2 separate regions of the Homo sapiens genome follow, and region 1 is linked to region 2. Evidence: promoter capture Hi-C in 16 types of primary human blood cells and fetal thymus (Javierre and others, 2016). All regions are on one chromosome and are shown on one strand. The core of a region is centred on a gene start or on the middle of the fragment in contact, and the rest is flanking DNA. Distances in the headings are between cores, read along the strand shown. Region 1 overlaps LOC107986023 (a long non-coding RNA gene). Region 2 holds the start of PIK3R4 (phosphoinositide-3-kinase regulatory subunit 4).

Evidence for each region. The method cuts DNA at HindIII sites, captures the fragments that hold promoters and counts their contacts. A CHiCAGO score of 5 or more calls a contact.
Region 1: a contact is called between a fragment that was not itself captured here and the fragment with the promoter of PIK3R4 in region 2, in 2 of 17 cell types (megakaryocytes and erythroblasts). The highest score is 8.0, in megakaryocytes.

The regions. Positions count from the first base shown.
Region 1 is chr3:130,869,063-130,871,946 of GRCh38, forward strand. All of the region lies in intron 1 of LOC107986023 (a long non-coding RNA gene), which reads right to left. It also overlaps a transcript of ATP2C1 not described here. Among named protein-coding and RNA genes, the nearest start is that of ATP2C1, 24 kb to the right of the region's middle. RefSeq lists an enhancer at 1-622. The HindIII fragment of the contact is 1,864 bases long and covers 408-2,271 here.
Region 2 is chr3:130,745,390-130,748,101 of GRCh38, forward strand. It overlaps PIK3R4 (phosphoinositide-3-kinase regulatory subunit 4), which reads right to left and starts at 1,440. Exons shown (of 20, transcript NM_014602.3): 1 at 929-1,440. RefSeq lists an enhancer at 1,121-1,180 and a silencer at 2,415-2,464. The HindIII fragment of the contact is 4,673 bases long and covers 342-2,712 here.

The sequences.
Region 1 (2,884 bases), core at 90-2,589, 120 kb after region 2:
TCATTTTGTTCTGTACTAAGAAAAATTCTTCTGCCTTGGGATCCTGTTGATCTGTGACCTTATCCCCAACCCTGTGCTCTCTGAAACATGTGCTGTGTCCACTCAGGGTTAAATGGATTAAGGGCGGTGCAAGATGTGCTTTGTTAAACAGATGCTTGAAGGCAGCATGCTCGTTAAGAGTCATCACCACTCCCTAATCTTAAGTACCCAGGGACACAAACACTGCGGAAGGCCGCAGGGTCCTCTGCCTAGGAAAATCAGAGACCTTTGTTCACTTGTTTATCTGCTGACCTTCCCTCCACTATTGTCCTATGACCCTGCCAAATCCCCCTCTGCGAGAAACACCCAAGAATGATCAATAAAAAATAAAAAAAAAAAAAAAAAAAAAAAAAAAAAAGAAATGATTAAGCTTAATGAGGAAGCATGTTGAAAGCTGAGGTAGGCTGAAAGCTAGGCCTCATGCATCAGTTAGCCAAGTTGTCAATACAAAGGAAAATTCTTGAAGGAAATTAAAAGTGCTACTCCAGTGAACACACAAATGATAAGAAAGCTAAACAGTATTTTTGCTAATGTGCAGGAAGTTTGAGCGGTCTGGATACAAGACCAAACCAGGCATACCATTCCTTTAGGCCAAAGTCTAATTCAGAGTAAGTCTCTAACTCTCTTGAATTCTGTGAAGGTTGAGAGAGGAGGGTTAGCTGCAGAAGAAAAGTTTGAATATAGCAGAGGTTGGTTCTTGAGGTTTAAGGAAAGAAGCAATCTCCATAACATAAAAGTACAAGGTGAAGCAGCAAGGAGTGATGGAGAAGTGGCAGCAAGTAATCCAGAAGACCTAGCTAAGATCATTGATGAAGGTGGCTATACTAAATAATAGATTTTCAATGTGGATAAAAAGCCACAGGCTGACTTTCTTGTTTGGAACCAGTACAGCTGTTGACTTTAAGTTGAAGCCAATGATGATTTATCATTCTGAAAATTCTAGGTCCCTAAAGAATGATGCTAAATCTACTTTGCTTGTGCTCTATCAATGGAACAACAGAGCCTGTAGGACAGCAGATCCATTTATAGCATGGCTTACTGAATATTTTAAGCCCACTGTTGAGACCTCAAAAAAAAAAATAGATTCCTTTCAAAATATTACTGCTCTTCACAGTGCAGCTAGTCACCCAAGAGCTCTGACATGAGGTAAAAGGAGAATAATGTTTTCATGTCTGCTGTCTGTTCTGCAGTCCATGGATCAAGGAAGAATTTTAACTTTCAAGTCTTATTATTTAAGAAACACATTTCATAAGGCTATAGCTACCATAGATAGTGATTCCTCTGATGGATCTGGGCAAAGTAAACTGAAAACTTTCCAGAGAGGATTCACCATTCTAGGTGTCACTAAAAACATTTGTGATTCATGAAAGGAGGACAAAGTGTCAACATTAACAGGAGTTTAGAAGAAGTTGATTCCAACCCTCATGGATGACTTTGAGGGATTCAAGACTTCAGTGGAGGAAGTAAGTACAGATGTGGTAGAAAGGGCAAGATAACTAGAAGTGGATCCTGAAGATGTTACTGAATTGCTGCAATTTCATGATAAACGTTGAACAGATGAGGAATTGCTTCCTCATAAGAAAACACAGAAAATGTTTTCTTATGATAGAACCTATTGCTGGGTAGATATGCTGTGAACATTGTTGAAATGATGACAAAGGATTTAGAGTATTTTATAAACTGAGGTGATAAAGCAGTGGCAGGGTTTGAGAGGACTGACTCCAATTTTGAAAGAGGTTCTACTATGCTACTAAACAGCATCAGACAATACAGAGAAATCATTTGTGCAAGGAAGAGTCAATTGATGCACCAAACTTTATTATTGTTTTATTTTAGGAAATTGCCACCGCCACTTCAACTTTCAGCAACCACCGCCCTGATCAGTCAATAGCCATTAACGTCAAGGCGAGATCCCCTACCAGCCAAAATATTATGACTCATTGATGGTTCAGATGATCATTAACATTCTTTAGCAATAAAGTATTTTTTAACTAAGGTATATACATTTTTTTAGACTTGCTATTGAATACTTAATAGACTACAATACAGTGTAAACATAAATTTTGTATGCACTGGGAAACCAAAAAATTTGTGTGACTTTCTGTATTGTGATATTTGCTTTATTGTGGTGGTCTCAAACCAAGCTCACAATATCTCTGAGTTATCCCTGTACATTCTTATTCACTCTTAGAATTGAGTACTATTGGCATGATCAAAATATTTTTAGATGAAAGCTTAATGCTTCTTGTAAACAGTGCTGAAACTTTAGCATGCATTGGAATCACCTAAAGGACTAATTAAAACAGAATGCTGGGCCCCACCTCCAGAGTTTCTAATACAGTAGGACTGAGGTGGGGCCCAAGAGTCTGCATTTCTAAAAAAATTCCAGGTGGGAGGGACCACACTTTCAGAACCACTGTTGCAGATCATTTGATGATGTATATTTCCAAAATCAAAGCTGACAGGGCTTGTCATACCTACTCAAGAATAGCATGTATGCTGCTTAGAAGATGGTAAGTCATTGTCAAAGCCAGAGGGATACTAATGATGACTTAGAGTTTCACAGGTTCTTAATTGACCATTTTCATTCACCTTGGCTGATGCCTAGTGTTACTTAATGCTTAGTAAGAAATCTTTAGGCCAGGGGCGGTGGCTCACCCCTATAATCCCAAACTTTGGGAGGCAGAGGCCGGCGGATCAGCTGAAGTAAGGAGTTCCAGACCAGCCTGGCCAATGTGGTGAAACCCCATCTCTATTAAAAAGTACAAAAATTAGCCAGGCGTGCTGGCGCGTGCCTATAACCCCTGTTACTCTGGAGGCTGGGGCTGGAGAATTGCTTGAACCT
Region 2 (2,712 bases), core at 190-2,689:
CTGTACCTAGCCTTCTGGGGCAGCCTCTAAATTTCACACACATTTATCTAAAAAGACCATGTTATTTTCTCCAAGAAGACCTTGTTATTTTACCTAAAAATACCCTGCTATTGCGCATCGCCATTTCCAGGAGCTGAACTATATTTAGATAGGCCTCTTCAACTTTAAGCCAAAAATGTTAGTTTGTGTTATTTTCTCATATTTAAATTTAAAATATTAATGAGCCTTTACTATGTGTTCCGTGCTGTGCTTGGGGCTATGAGAATTACAAAGTTACCATATGACATAGTTCTTGTCCAAGAATCTGTAGTTTCTTGGAAATAAGAAAGAGACACATTAAAAGCTTAAAACTGGCCGGGCGCGGTGGCTCACGCCTGTAATCCCAGCACTTCGGGAGGCCGAGGCGGGAGGATCACGAGGTCAGGAGCTCAAGACGGGGCTGGCCAACATGGTTAAAATCCCGTCTCTACTAAAAATACAAAAATTAGCCGGGCGTGGTAGTGGGTGCCTGTAATCCCAGCTACTCGTGAGGCTGACGCAGAATTGCTTGAACCCAGGACGCAGAGGTTGCAGTGAGTGGAGATCCCGCCACCGCACTCCAGCCTGGGTGACAGAGCGAGACTCCGTCCGTCTCAAAAAATAAAAAAAAAAAAAGAAAAACTGAAAACTGAAAAGGTCAAACTAAGATCTAAAAATTCAGTTAACTCCTGGACACTTCCTGCCTAATTCCAGTGTGCCCTCTCACCCAGCTAAAAGAAGGTGCAAACTTCGCTGGTCTGCAACAAGAAACCTTGCCACAGATGTTAAAGAAAAGCAGACCAAAGTATACACTAGCTAAACGTACCCCAGGGTTCTGCTAACTCAGGTTTTGCAGGAAATAAATGCCACACATATACACACACGACCTTGAGCACACATAAACATTTACCCTAGGCCTCGGGAAAGTGTCAAAATCGTTCAGAGGCTCACAACGAGGTCATAGTAGACTACTTCGGGGACGGGACGGGAAAACGCGTCAGCAGCGGGGAAGTTGTTTCTACGAAGGGTCTTTCTTCATAGACAGGAGATGGGCTGTTGGTGGAGGGGCGCAGAAAAGTCCCGATCTTCAGGAACCCCGGTGGTCCTGGGAGGAGAACTGGGAAAGCTCTCGGGGTCTCAGCAGAGAGAAGAAGCCACGCTAAAGAGTCTCCACAAGTACCCCGGGATTTGACCCCTCCAGCCCCCTAACCTGCCCTGGGGGACATGCGTTCCCGGGCCTCGTCTTCCTCTAGCGCGGATCGCTACACCCGTCCGAGCCCTCCTCGAGGGCCTCACCACCGGGCGGGGGGAGATGGAACCCGGGAGAGAAGTGCAGACCGCCAGTCCCAAGAAAACACTACACTTCAGCTGCTGCAGCCCCAGCAAACGCCGAACTCCCGGGAAAGCAACCGGTCTGACCTCACTTCCTGTCGCCGAGCGGAAGTGACGAAAAAGAGTGAGCCTTGAGGAATTGCCAGGGTAGGAAACCGGTTGCTAGGAAACTAGGGAAGGCGTGGTCTTACTTTGGGCGAGTCTACAGGGAGAAAATGATGCTCTGACAAAGATCTATTCCCCTTCCTGCTCTTCTACCTTTCATTCACGAACGCTGAGGTTTCTGACATCCCCTAGAATCTGCTCAGACACGCCTTCACTCCCAGGACAGCAGAACAGAGTTAAGAGAACTCAAGAATATTTAGGAAAACTAATATATCCCAAGCTGGATTTTTAGAGTTCTGGTGAGATATAACTTACATACCATAAAGTTCACCTGCTTAAAATGTACAAAGCAGTAGTTTTTAATACATCTATCGAGTTGTGCAATCATCCCTATAATCTGATTTTAATTTTTTTTTTTTTTTTTTTTTTTTTTTTTTTTTTTTTTTTTTTTTTTGAGGCTGAGTCTCGTTCTGTCGCCCAGGCTGGAGTGCAGTGGAGCGATCTCGGCTTACTGCAACCTCCACCTCCCGGGTTCAAGCGATTCTCCTGCCTCAGCCTCCCGAGTAGCTGAGACTACAGGCGCCCGCCACCACGCCCGGCTAATTTTTTTGTATTTTTAGTAGAGGCGGGGTTTCACCGTGTTAGCCAGGTTGGTCTCGATCTCCTGACCTCGTGATCCGCCTGCCTCAGCCTCCCAAAGTGTTGGGATTACAGGCGTGAGCCGCCGCGCCCGGCCTTTTTTTTTTTCTTTTGGAGACAGTCTGGCTCTGTCACCCAGGCTGGAATGCAGTGGTGCCATCTCGGCTTACTGCAAACTCCACCTCCCGGGTTCAAGCGATTCTCATGCCTCTGCCTCCAGAGTAGCTGGGACCACAGGCACGTGCCACCACGCCCAGCTAGGTTTTTGTTTTTTTTTTTTTTGAGACGGAGTCTCGCTCTTGTCGCCCAGGCTGGAGTGCAGTGGCGCGATCTCGGCTCACTGCAAGCTCCGCCTCCCGGGTTCACGCCATTCTTCTGCCTCAGCCTCCCGAGTAGCTAGGACTATAGGCGCCCGCCACCGCGCCGGGCTAATTTTTTGTATTTTTTTTTTAGTAGAGACGGGGTTTCGCCGTGGTCTCGATCTCCTGACCTCGTGATCCACCCGGCCTCTCAAAGTGCTGGGATTACAGGCGTGAGCCACCGCGCCCGGCCGCTAGTTTTTGTATTGTTTGTAGAGATGGGGTTTCACCATGTTGGCCAGGATGGTCTGGATCTCCT